3 separate regions of the Homo sapiens genome follow, and regions 1 and 3 are each linked to region 2. Evidence: promoter capture Hi-C in human tissues and cell types (Jung and others, 2019). All regions are on one chromosome and are shown on one strand. The core of a region is centred on a gene start or on the middle of the fragment in contact, and the rest is flanking DNA. Distances in the headings are between cores, read along the strand shown. Region 1 overlaps RNF130 (ring finger protein 130). Region 2 holds the start of RASGEF1C (RasGEF domain family member 1C). Region 3 has its middle 41 kb from the start of CNOT6.

The links. The method cuts DNA at HindIII sites, captures the fragments that hold promoters and counts their contacts. A contact is called where the count stands out against the background at its distance.
Region 1: a fragment that was not itself captured here is called in contact with the fragment with the promoter of RASGEF1C in region 2 in 2 of the 25 tissues and cell types used here (H1 embryonic stem cells and dorsolateral prefrontal cortex).
Region 3: a contact is called between a fragment that was not itself captured here and the fragment with the promoter of RASGEF1C in region 2, in 2 of the 25 tissues and cell types used here (H1 embryonic stem cells and pancreas).

The regions. Positions count from the first base shown.
Region 1 is chr5:180,046,345-180,050,730 of GRCh38, forward strand. The region is part of intron 1 of RNF130 (ring finger protein 130); the gene reads right to left. Among named protein-coding and RNA genes, the nearest start is that of RNF130, 23 kb to the right of the region's middle. The HindIII fragment of the contact is 4,639 bases long and covers 182-4,386 here.
Region 2 is chr5:180,207,133-180,211,262 of GRCh38, forward strand. It overlaps RASGEF1C (RasGEF domain family member 1C), which reads right to left and starts at 2,079. Exons shown (of 14, transcript NM_175062.4): 1 at 1,896-2,079. RefSeq lists an enhancer at 78-870 and a silencer at 1,995-2,214. The HindIII fragment of the contact is 4,624 bases long and covers 1-3,384 here.
Region 3 is chr5:180,451,479-180,456,085 of GRCh38, forward strand. No RefSeq gene overlaps it. Among named protein-coding and RNA genes, the nearest start is that of CNOT6, 41 kb to the right of the region's middle. The HindIII fragment of the contact is 6,084 bases long and covers 1-4,607 here.

The DNA.
Region 1 (4,386 bases), core at 1,251-3,750, 160 kb before region 2:
AGGAGGCACCGAGAGCGAGCAGGGGCTGCTAGCACGTTGTCACCTCTCACCACCAGTCTGAAACTCTCCTCCTCTTTGATTCATTTGATTTAGTAAAACCTCATTTCTTAGAAATGTAAACACGCCACATAAGAAGCACTCACCATGTTGTGTAGGCTAAGGGTTTCCTTCCTACCCCTGAGAATTGTCAGTCTGCTGCAGGGGCAGAAGTGATAGCCTCGGACAGTATTTTTCTGCAGTGATGGTCAAAACAGGCGGCCGCACAGCACAGTGGCAAAGATGTGCCTCTCCCTCTCAGAGCCTGTGTGTGTCACTTCATCCTCCTGAAATGCCAGTCCCACCACTCTTGCTCACCACCTTCTGAGCCTCAGGATTCTGCCAAAATGTCTTCTCCAGAACGCTTTCCCAGCCTCCTAAGACTGAGTTGGGTGCTTTTTTCAAGTTGCCATGGCACCCTTAGGTTACATCCATCTTGGCATTTATCATACTGTATTAGTAACTGGCTGTTTACTTCTGAGGCTTTCCTTCCGGAATGTGAGGTCTAGCATCTCCTGCGAATATGTCTGGCACATAGATGTTTAACATGATTGATGAAGGAAAAGGGGAAAAACAACAGGGAAATTAAGCCAAAACTGGCATTAAAAAAAAGTTTGTGGCAAAGAGTTCTCTGTTTCACGTGGTAATATCCTGACTACGGTAATGTTCTATCAGTTGCTTCCTACAAAAGAGGTAAAAATAAAAATGAGACTAATTAGTTACCCCGGATTTAGATTCCTCCATTGTCAGCTATGGTCTGGTTGCTTTCCTACTCCTGAATTAGATTATAATTTCTTTATTCTTTAAATTTCCTGCTTCTACCCTATCTTTCCTTATTTTCCTTTGTCAAATTCTAATTTTATGATTCAAAGAAAAAATACAATTCATCATTTCTGTTATCAATTTCTTAATTTTATTTTTAATGGCAGCTACTGGACTTAGGTGGAGCTTTCATTCTCTTTATCCACTTCCATGGATATAACTTATTATTTTACTGCTTCTACACTTTCACTTAAACCTAACATTTCTTTTTATTACTTAGCTTCATTGGGTGTTTAGTCTTATTGAAAATGTTTTTTTCTGGCCCGGCGTGGTGGTTCATAGCTGTCATCCCAGCACTTTGGGAGGCCAAGGCAGGCAGATCACCTGAGGTCGGGAGTTCAAGACCAGCCTGACCAACATGGTGAAACCCTGTCTCTATTAAAAATACAAAATTTAGCTTGGCGTGGTGTGTAGGCCTGTAATCCTAGCTACTCGGGAGGCTGAGGCAGAAGAACTGCTTGAACCTGGGAGGCAGAGGTTGCAGTGAGCCGAGATTGCACCACTCCACTCCAGCCTGGGCGACAGAGTGAGACTCTGTCTAAAAAAATAAATAAAATAAATCTCAGGCCACTCTTTGTTCTCCAAACTGGCCTGCCCCAGCCAAGCGCTCTCCTCTCTCCACTCCCACGTCCCACTTCCTCCAGGCTTTCCTCCTGCACTACCACAGTCATTCTTTGGGTCTTTACTGCCTCTTCTTCCTCCAGTCGAACCTTCAATACTGACGCTCCCGAGTACTCTGCCTTCCCTGGCGTGGGCCCAGGACTCTCCAGGGTTCATGTTCACCATGTCAACAGCACACTTTTTTTTTTTTTATTGGAACAACAATGCTTACTAACATCTCATGCTGAGCAGCCCTCTTCTGAGAAATTATTTTTCATTTTTACTTCTATGAACCCAGTTTCTAATAGACACAGCTAAATCAGGTCAACAGCATGCTAAGAATCGGGAGAGGAAAGTGGAAAATTACACACACAGAAGGGAATTCATTCCCTTCCATTCCAAGCAAAACCTCTGCCTTGATGAGTTAATAGGAGTTCTCCAAGATTTCAACTGGTTTACATGGAAGGGGCACGGAAGGGAGTCTGTAGTCCGGTTTACGGCAAATCACTCTGTATCTAATTTGTCTGTTTCCAGGTTGCTCTGCCCTGCTTCTAGGCTAGAGGATGATATTATTATCAAAGGCTACAGGATTAACCTCCGAATCTAGGCAATTTCTGCTTGACTCACATAGGAAGAACCAGTGTTCCATGTAACAAAATCAATGACTTAGATTGATTAAAAATAATGAGGCCAGGTGCGGTGGCTCATGCCTGTAATCCCAGCACTTTGGGAGGCTGAGGTGGGAGAATCCCTTGAGCCCAGGAGTTGAAAGCTACAGTGAACTGGGATGGCGCCACTGCACTCCACCCTGGGAGGCAGAGAGAGATGCTATCTCAAAAACGGGAAGAGGGAATTTATCCTGTCTCAGAACAGGGCTGTATTTTGCGGTGAAGAATTCAGCACCTCAGCAGTGTCACCAGGATCTGGTTCCTTTTCATCTCTTCCCTTTGCCATCTGTAGCTTCAGCTTCATCCTAAGAGTCCCCTCTTTATCATAAGATGACTGCCAGCAGCAAATGAAGTCACACAGCTCCCTGTTCATATTCAGTGGGAGACAGAAAAAGCCAACCCTCCAGGTATGTAATTTAAGCTCTTCACTTCTGTGCAGCTCACCCTAGGTCATTTATCCTTCTGTGCCCCACACCCTCTTCTGGGACTCAAACAGGTGTCACTTAAAGCATGTGGCTGCATGGAAGTGATCACAGATGCCTGAATTACATAAGGTTTCTGTTTTCTGTTTTAAATAAGCAGAGGCTGGTAGGCAATTAACAGCTCACTTCAAACCTCAAGGTAACCTTATACAGTGGCTCTTAATTCATCAGAATCCACACTTGGCAATTCAAACCCACCAAAAAGGACAAAACCCAAAAAGAAAGCTTCTTTGGTTTCCAAGCGCTTTGACACAGGGAGACAGCTAAGGTACCACCCCTCTGCCTCCTTCCCTCACTCGAGGGAAACATGAGCTATTTGGGAGTGGAGAGCCCCACTTGAAGATCAGCAGCTACAGCAAGCATTCTTGACAAGGCTCTGGGGATAGAATTCAGGGCTGAGTGACATTTGGATGAGGGGAAATCATCTTTATTTCTGCTAAAATCTAACTGAAATCTAGCATTTTATTTATTTATAAACACAGATAACAAACCATCTGTAACTCTGTAACCAGCAGCAACCACATTACAGTTATTGCAAATACTGCAAAATACTGATAAGGTGATTAGGCCCACCACTGAATCCTGTCCCTAATGTTAACTGTACAAGTATTACCATGTCACAGACATGTTAAGTATTTTAAATACTTTGATACATTGTTTCAGTATACTTGGGTTTCTTTAATCCTATTTACTCCTGCACTTAACACTATTCTGAGAAGCAGCCCACAGGTTAAATCAGACTGCAAAAGGAGTCTCAACTGCCACGCTTAGTCTATTTGCATATGTATATGATATAGCTGGATTCATCTCTATTATTTTATTGTGTTCTTATTTATTCTACTTTTCTAAGCTTCTTTATACTTTTTTTCCCTCTCCTTTCTGCCTCTGAATATATTGACCGAATTTCATTTCCCCCTTTTCCTCATCTATATATTCAAGTTCTATTTTTTTAGTGCCTACCCTTAAAATGTTAACATGCATACCTGATAAAAGGTCTACAATTAATCAGTACCTCTATTCTCCTCCTGAATACCTCAAGGCTCTTAGTTTCCTAGGGCTGCCAGAACAAAGTACCACAAGCATGGTGGCTTAAACAACAGAAATGTATTCTCCCACAGTTCTGAAGGCCAGAAGTCCAAAATCAAGGTGTAGGCAGGGCCACTCTCCCTATGTCTAGCTCTATCTAGTTATTTCTTTATACAGATATGTAGATACAAAGGGATTTATTATAAGGAATTGGCTCTGGCAATTATGGAGACAGACAAATCCCAAGCTCTGCAGGGTGAGCTGGCAGGCTGGAGACCCAGCAGAGCCGATGGAGTTCCAGGCCAAAGACCAGCAGGCTCCGCGCCCACAAGAGTCAAAGGTCTCAGCCATAAGGCAGTCAGGCAGGAGGAAACCCCTCTGACTCCAGGGAGTGTCACTTTTTTGTTCTATTCATGCCATCAGTGGAATGGATAAGACCCACCCACATTATGGAGAGCAATCTGCTTTATTCGGTCTACCCATTCAAACGTTAACCTCGTCCAAAACCACCCTGACCGAAACACAAGAATTCTCTCAGGATACTGTCTGACCAAGTATGTGGGCACCTGTGGCCCAGTCAAGGTGAAACATAGAATTCACCATCACAGTCCTCCTCACAGCTCACTTTTTTCCTTCTGTGTTCCATTTCCCTCCTCCTTATTCTACATCCTTCAGAAGTTCTTTCAATGAGGATCTGTTAGGTAAACTTGTATTTTACATCTGAAAACATCTTTCTTTTGTTCTCATTCTTG
Region 2 (4,130 bases), core at 829-3,328:
CACAGCACTCTGCCTGCACACCCGTGGAAATCCCGATGCTGACCTAGCAGGTTTTGGTTGGCTTCGGTGTGGATGCAGTCATTCTGAAACTCTTTCGGGGTGCATTGTGGAGCTAAGTAAATGATGAAATATATTCATGTTTGGGGGAATAAGGTTCTCACTGCAGGAGAAAGGGAAAGGAAATATTAATTTTTAGTAAAAAAGGGGCCTTGGCTTGGTCCACTGACAAGGCCTAGAGGCGGCGAGTGCACGCCCCACACTAAGCCCGGGTCCCACGCAAGGAACCAAGGCCCCTTGGACAAATGGCTGACTCTGGATCTGGGTCCAGGTACAAGTGAGAGCTGGAACCACCTCAGAGACTGGCGGGGACATGGCAGGAGGGTGCAGACCCCGGCCTGAAAAGGGCCAGGTCCCGGGCAGGGCCCCACCTCTACCTGGTGGCCTGCGGGCTCCCCCTCGCCAGTCCCGCCCTGGGCTCCGCAGCCCGTCCCTCTCTCGCCTGCCCTCCCTCTCCTGCCCCGGCAGTGCGCCCACCCGCCGCCACGGGCAGCCTTTCGACGCCCAACCTGCAAACCGCCTGGGGGCTGCCCAGGACGTCCAGACCCTGTAGCGTCTCAGCTCCAGCTCCGCCCCCTCCTGCCCTCAGGGATCTCACCCGCGCTGTTCCCCCGGGCTACCCGTCCATCACAGGCTGGGCTCCCCGCTCAGGACAGCCTCCCTGACCAGACGAAGGCTCCGCCGCGCCCTGGTCTCCCTCTGCCCCAGTCACCCTACTGCATGTTCTTCCCAGCACGCATAAGATCTTGGCCATGTCCTTGCTTTTGCCTTTGATTTCTTGTTTGGTGTCCCCTCCCACACCAGCTAGTGAGCACTTACGGGGGCAGGCAGCAGGCGGCACACAGTAGGCGCTCAATGAATGTGGCCAGTGAGTGGACAACCCTAGCCCCCCTCCACCGGTCGCCTGCACAGTGGCTGCACTATGGCTGTTGGAGCCAGTCTTACCAGAGGTGGGACCCCAGCGTTGCCACTCCATGGTCCCGCCCCTCTCTAAACCTCAGTTACTCCACCTGCCTGGCAGGCAGAGCTTCCCAGGACTCTTCTCAGGCTCCCGGGGCTCAGAACTTCTGTCTCTCCCACAGCCCCAGGAGGCAGGAGATACGGGCCCGGAAGAGCTCCACCAGCACCCCAACTTCCCAGCTCTGTCTTTCCCACAGTTTCCCACGCCCACGCTGAGCATGGGGCGGCGTCGCCAGCACCCTTCCCCAAGTCCCCCCAAGCATCGCTTTCCCAATCTAAATACAATGAGTGGACCAGGTGGTCCCTTGATGCCGTCCGCTGTCACTGCGTGAGGGACACACCCAGGACTCCCAGCAGACCCCACTGTTCTCGCAGGCCCTCTGATAGTGGCGCTGGTCCTTTCCTCAAATCCGATCCCATCCTCAAGGGTGACAGCACCCTCTTCCCCCAGGCGCAAGGCCCTTTCCCTTCTGCACGTGCACCGGCAGGTCTGCTTTCCCGTCCCCATTTCATAGACGGGGAAACTGAGGTCCGGTGCGGGTGGAGGCTTTGGTCTAGGCTGGCTCTTCCTGCCACTCTAGCGGCTGAAAGAAGCTTGCTCCTCGCGCCCAGCAGGGGCTGGCGGCGCGCGGCAGAGCTGGGTCTCCCGCCAGGTGGCCGGGGGTGTGCCCTCAGGGTACCCTACCCGCTACCCCCGCGCCTCCAGTCCCGGCGGCCGCGCGGACCCCGCCCCTGCTGACCCCGGCGCACGCTCCCGCGCCGCGCGCAGCCTCCCGCCTCCCGCCGACCCCGCCGCGCCGCCGGCAGCCCTCCCCAGCCCCCGCGAGCCCGCGCCCTTGCCCGCACCGCCAGGTGTCCCTCGGCCGCGCACCACTCACCGGCTCCCGGCGCGCCGGAACTCCGGGCCCGGCCCATGGGCAGCTCCCGGTGCGAGCCTCGGCGCCGCGGACCGGGGCGCCGCCCGCCGCCGCCGCCGCCGCCGCCGCCGCCGCCGCCGCCGCCCGACCGCCCGGCTCCCAGCGCAGCCCGCACGAGCGCCTGGCGGCGGCCCCGGAGCAACGCGGCGCTGCGCCCCCTCGTGGCACTCAGGCAGCGCGGAGCGGGCGGGGCGCGGGGGTGGAGCTGCGGGAGCCCGCGGGCGGCGCTGCACACCAGGGCCCTCCGTGCCCCGGCCGCGGAGCCAAGCGTCCCGCCCTGCGTTCAGGCCTCCGCGGCGGCTGGCCCCCCGCGCCAGGACCACCCGCTCGGGCCGTCAGACGCTGCCCTCCCGCGCGCGGACCCTGGCGGACTCTGCGCCCCAGCTGCCCCAGCCTACACCTCACCTGGTGGGCCTCTGGCGCCCCAAAACCCAGTTCACCCTCTCTCCTCAAGACTGGGCCCGGCCCGGTTCTCTGGACTGGCCACCTAGGTTGTCTGTGTCCCCCAATGGGACATCCCTGGGTGGACACCCCCCCTCCCCAACCTTCTCGGCGCTCTCCCGTGGCCCCCAGGGAGGGTGGACACCACTTTGAAGACACCGGGGTTCTGGGAGGATGGCGATGCATGATTTCACTTTTAGAAAGGGAGAGGGGCTCTAACAGGATCCAGTGGCCTCCTTGAACTGGGTCTTCAGTGAAAAGTTCCCTGGTTGGTCCCAGCATAGAGGTCAGGACACCTGTCCTCCTGTGTCCGCAGTTTGTCCCTTCCGCTGGGTTCCTGGTCTGGCTGACTTCAAGAATGAGCCAGGGACCTTGGCAGTGAGTGTTACAGCTCTTAAAGGTGGTGCGACGGTGAAACCCTGTCTGTACTAAAAATACAAAAAAATTAGCCAGGTTTGGTGGTGGGCGCTTGTGGTCCCAGCTATTCGGGAGGCTGAGGCAGGAGAAGGGCGTGAACCCGGGGAGGTGGAGCTTGCAGTGAGCAGAGATTGCACCACTGCACTGTAGCCTGGGCGACAGAGCAAGACTCCATCTCAAAAAAAAAAAAAAAGAAAAGAAAAGAAAAAGGTGGTGCAGACCCAAAGAGTGCGTAGCAGCAAAATGTCTTGTGAAGAGCAAGAGAACAAAGCTTCCACAGCAGGGAAAAAGACCACAGCCGGTCGCCGCTGTTGCTGGCTGGCGAGGGGTGGGCGGGCAGCTTTTATTCCCTTATTTGTCCCCACCCATGTCCTGCTGATTGGTCCGTTTCACGGAGTGCTGATTGGTGCGTTTTTACAGAGTGCTGATTGGTGCATTTACAATCCTCTAGCTAGCCAGAAAAGTTCTCCAAGTCCCCACCCGACACGGAAGTTCCAGCTGCCTTCACCTCACTCTGCTTTAGTCAGGACCTGCCTGATGAGATGTGGCCCAAAACTCAACCCAACCAGCTTGAGCAAAAAGCTGGTTTGTGGATCATAAAAAGCCAAGGTTTACTGCTTAGAGGAATGGCTAGATCCAGGTACTTAACCTATGTGCATAGAAACTGGCCTCCCCTATCTCCCAGTCTTTCTGTGGCAGAATGGCCCTGGGTTGACACCTCAGAGAGGGCACAGCTGCCTGATAGTTGCAAGGACAGCCTGCGGCTGCCACACACAGGCTCCGAGGAGCTGAGCTCAGGCCATTTCCAAAGACCTAGGGAGCAGGAATAGCAGGCCTGGGTGTCGTCTCACTAGAGCTGAGGCAGAGTTAGTCCTGTGTCAGCTTTGAGGATGGAGTAAGGTGCTGTTCCAAGCTTCCGTGAAGGCTGTTCCTGGAAGAATGGACAGGTTAAGAACAACAGTCCAGCCCATTTCTTGAACAGTTAGGGAAACTGAGTCCTGGAGAGAGCAGGCAGCTGCCTAGGGCATACAGATGTATTAGAATGAATGTGGGCCAGGTAGCTAGGCAGGGAGACAGCAGGGCTGGGGCCAGGGCCAGGGCCAGAGGCTGGCCCTAGGGAGGGTGACATCTGAGACCAAGGGTCAGGTGTGGGGAAAGGGAGGAGGAACAGAGGCAGGCACTTGGTCAGGGGTGAGCAGTGTGCTCCCAGCAGATAGACAGATGCGCCTCAGGGTGCAGGCACTGGGCCCTCCCTGCATCTTCTCCGATTATCACCCTATGCCCCTAAGCCTCAGGTCCAGTCCCAGGGTGTCGCCTGGAGGAAGCCAGGAGTCTAGG
Region 3 (4,607 bases), core at 356-2,855, 240 kb after region 2:
TTCGTTCTATTTGAGTTGTTTGAAATACAATTTTTTTCCAATGTTATGTGACCTCTGAAATCAATTCAGTTCGGTTTCCCAGTAGTTTTTCTCTCATTGGCCTCACAGAATATTTTCCTGAGCATTCCAGCTTAGTATTTGGCTGGAGTCAACAGAAGCACTATGCATCTTGCTCAGTTTCTTCTTTGCACAAGTCCTTCCTCTCTCTTACTCTGCCCCATAAATTCCAGCCACTGCAGCAGCTCTAAAGTCTAATCTCCATGTCCTTTACTCAATAAGGCCAATGCCTCCTGTCTCAGCCACAGTTTATTGTTTGGAAAGTTCTCCCAGGCAGAGAGCTGGGAGTAATATGGAGCTTATCACATGTGTTTCTCTTCTTTCAAAGTCACATTTCTGTAGTTTTACTCCATATATTTTCTACAGTATTACTGCTGCCTAAAACACAAAGCTGAATCCAACTCTTGTTTCTCTGTCATGGCTAGAACTGAAAATCCTCCATCCTATTTTTCCCCATGGCTGAATGTGAATGGATTGTTAAAGATTACCACACATTTGAGGAAAGCTTCTTATGTCAAGTCTAGAGACCAAAACTAACAGGCAAACAAACAAACAAGAGCTTGAATGAGGCAGAAACCACACATGGAAAGAAAGGCTTTAAAAATAAGCCTCTTATTAATATCCCCAGGGAGGTAGTGCATCCATGATTCAAGAACAGAATTTTATATTTTAATAAAAGAGTGAGACCAGGCGTGGTGACTCACACCTGTAATCCCAGCACTTTGGGAAGCCGATGCAGGCAGATCACGATGTCAGAAGTTTGAGACTAGCCTGGCTAACACGGTGAAACCCCATCTCTACTAAAAATACAAAAATTAGCCGGGCGTGGTGGTGCACGCCTGTAATTCCAGCTACTCGGGAGACTGAGGCACAAGAATCACTTGAAGCTGAGGTGGAGGTTGCAATGAGCTGAGACTGCACCACTGTACTCCAGCCTGGGTGACAGAGGAAGACTCTGTCTCTAAATAAGTAAATAAATAAATAAAAATAAAATAAAAGGGTGAGAAACGACAGAGAAAAAAACTGCTTTTAGAAAATAAAAACATGGGCCGGGTGCAGTGGCTCACGCCTGTAATCCCAGCACTTTGGGACGCCAAGTCGGGTGGATCACCTGAGGTCAGGAGTTCAAGACCAGCCTGGCCAACATGGTGAAACCCCCGTCTCTACTAAAAATACAAAAAATTAGCTGGGCGTGGTGGTGCACGCCTGTAATCCCAGCTGCTCAGGAGGCTGAGGCAAGAGAATCACTTGAACCTGGGAGGCGGGGTTGCAGTGAGCCGAGATCACACCACTGCACTCCAGCCTGGGCAGCAAGAGTGAAACTCAGTCTCAAAAATAAATAAATAAATAAATAAATAAATAAATAAATAAATAAAATACAAAATTAGCTGGGTCTGGTGGCACACGCCTGTAGTCTCAGCTACTAGGGAGGCTGAGACAGGAGAACTGCTTGAACCCAGTGAGAGGTGAAGCCAGCTGGACTTCCTGGGTGGAGTGGGGACTTGGAGAACTTTTCTCTCTTACAAGAGTATTGTAAAATGCACCAATCAGCACTCTGTAGCTAGGATTGTAAAACTCACCAATCAGTGATCTGTAGCTAGCAAGAGGATTGTAAAATGCACCAATCAGTGCTCTGTAAAAACGCACAAATCAGTGCTCTGTAGCTAGCAAGAGGATTGTAAAATGCATCAATCAGTGCTCTGTAAAATGCACCAATCAGTGCTCTGTAAAATGCACCAATCAGCAGGATCCTAAAAGTAGTGAATTGCAGGGAGGATTGAAAAAAGGGCACTCTGATAGGACAAAAACGGAACATGGGCGGGGACAAATAAGGGAATAAAAGGTGGCCATCCCCCCAGCCAGGAGCAGCAACCCTTTGGGTCTCCTTCCAGTTATGGAAGCTTTGTTCTTTCACTCTTCACAATAAACCTTGCTACCGCTCACTCTTTGGGTCATGGCATCTTTAAGAGCTGTAACACTCACCTTGAAGGTCCACGGCTTCGTTCTTGAAGTCAGCCACACCAGGAACCCACCGGAAGGAACCAACTCCAGACATACCGGGCGACAGAGGCTGCAATGAGCTGAGATCGCGCCACTGCACTCCAGCTTAGGTGAGACAGAGCGAGACTCCATCTCAGAAAAGAAAAACATCACAAAAATATAAAGGTCAACAGACAGATGGAAAATATGAGGGGCACAAAAGATTTTAAAATTTCTAATCCAGTGCAAGAAGTCTAATATCTGAATAACAGGAGTTTCAGAGAAAACAGGAGCCAGAGATACCAAATAAATAGTCAAGAAGCTACCAGAAGCCTAAGCCTCGAGAATAAAAAAAAGCACTGCCCAGAACAAGTGCTCTGCACAACGGATGAAAACACACCAACACTAAAGCACATCACTAGGAAATGTTAGCTCATTGAATGAAAAGCACATATTTTATATGCTCCCAGATAGAAAGAAAAAAAACAGCTTCCATGAAAGAAAGATCAATCAGAATGCTTCAGATGTCTTCACAACAGCTCTGGAAGGAAGCAAGCATCTTCAGAATTATAGGGAAAAACAACACTCCCAACTTAGATGTGTATATCCTAGAAAGCCACCAATCATGTATAAGGGTAGATTAAAGACATTTGCAGACATACAGGTTCTCAAAATAATTATCTCCCATGCTTCTGGTTTCTAGAAGCTACTATGGAATGTGTTAATAACACAGTGGGGGGAAAAAACAGAAAAGAGGAGTCATAGAGTCCAAGAAAGAGAGGCTCTAGCTCAGGAGTGAGGCAAAGGAGAGGCCCTGGGGGATGGTGACAGGAGGCACCTGAGTGAAAGCTAGTACCAGGCACGAGGGCCACCCATCCAGACGAGCAAAGCAGGAGTCCTCAGAAGAGAGTTCCTCAATAAGTTAAATCTGCAAAGGCATCCAATGTGTTTTTATGCAATTGAAAGTAGATTTATCTCACCAGGGAAAAGTTTGGGGATAAAATTAGTGAAAAGTGGCCGGGTGCAGTGGCTCACACCTGTAATCCCAGCACTTTGTGAGGCTGAGGCAGTTGGATCTCCTGAGGTCAGGAGTTTCAGACCATCCTGGCCAATGGGATGAAACCCCGTCTCTATTAAAAATACAAAAATTAGCCAGGCGTGGTGGCAAGTGCTGGTAATCCCAGCTACTCAGAAGGCTGAGGCAGGAGAATCACTTGAACCCGGGAGGTGGAGGCTGCAGTGAGCCGAGATGGCACCACCTGCACTCCAGCCTGGGCAACAGAGTGAGACTCCATCTCAAAAAAAAAAAAAATAGTGATAAGTACATAGAGATATAGATGACAGTCACTGCCTCTAGTACAGACAAAAGCTGTTCTATGACATGGAAAGTAATTACAGTACCACATGGTTCAGCTGTGAATAGCATTTACATAGTCACAATGCCATTACTCTGGAATAGCAATCTAGCCAAAATGCCAGTAAAACTGCATATACTTGGGAAGATGAGGGATTAAAAATGGGTGGGGGGGTTAGGGACACAGCGGGAAGGAAAGAGCCTGATTTTCATCTTGGATTGTGGAAACACAATAAATGCAGCTTAAAATGGAACAACCAAGAAGCAGAATAGAAGCTGCTATTTAGAGATATGGAAGTTAATGCCTAAATAATGAAATAGAACAACAGGAAATGAAGAGACTGCTGTTCTTGGTATAATTCTTCAACATTTTGTTTTAATTTTTAAGGATTACTTCCAACGGGTAGGTTGTAAAAAGTGACAGTCTTGGGCCAATGATGTACCCTTTTTATTTTGTTTGTGTTGTTGTTGTTATTGTTTTGAGACGGAGTCTCGCTCTGTCGCCCAGGCCAGAGTGCAGTGGTGCGATCTCGGCTCACTGCAAGTTCCGCCTCCCGGGTTCACGCCATTCTCCTGCCTCAGCCTCCCGTGTAGCTGGGACTACAGGCACCCGCCACCTCGCCCGGCTAATTTTTTGTATTTTTAGTAGAGACGGGGTTTCACCGTGTTAGCCAGGATGGTCTCGATCTCCTGACCTCGTGATCCGCCCGCCTCGGCCTCCCAAAGTGCTGGAATTACAGGTGTGAGCCACTGCTCCCGGCATTTTTGTTTGCTTTTAGAGACAGGGTGTCACTCTGTCCCCTAGATCAGAGTGCAGTGTTGGAATCACAGCTCACTGCACTCTCAATCTCCTGGGCTCAAGCAATCCTCCTGCCTCAGCCTCCCAAGTACCTGGGGCTACAGGCGCACGTCACCATACCTGGCTAATGTTTTGTATTTTTTTGTAGAGACAGGGTCTCACTGAGGCAGGAGAATAGGGTCTGGAGGCAGAGAACCTAAGGCCAATTTGCTCTGACTTCCTAGAATTGAATCAAAATGAAAACCCCAACTTTCCACACCCAAGTAACAAAAGGATCAGAGGCCACTCCCTTTGCAACTTCCCCCACCTTTCTGGGAGGCAGAAGAAAAATGCAAAGTACCTCTGATTGATCCCCTTCTGCAACCAATCAGACTGGTCATGGGCCTAGTCTTCAATTGCATAGGGGTATAACTTTGT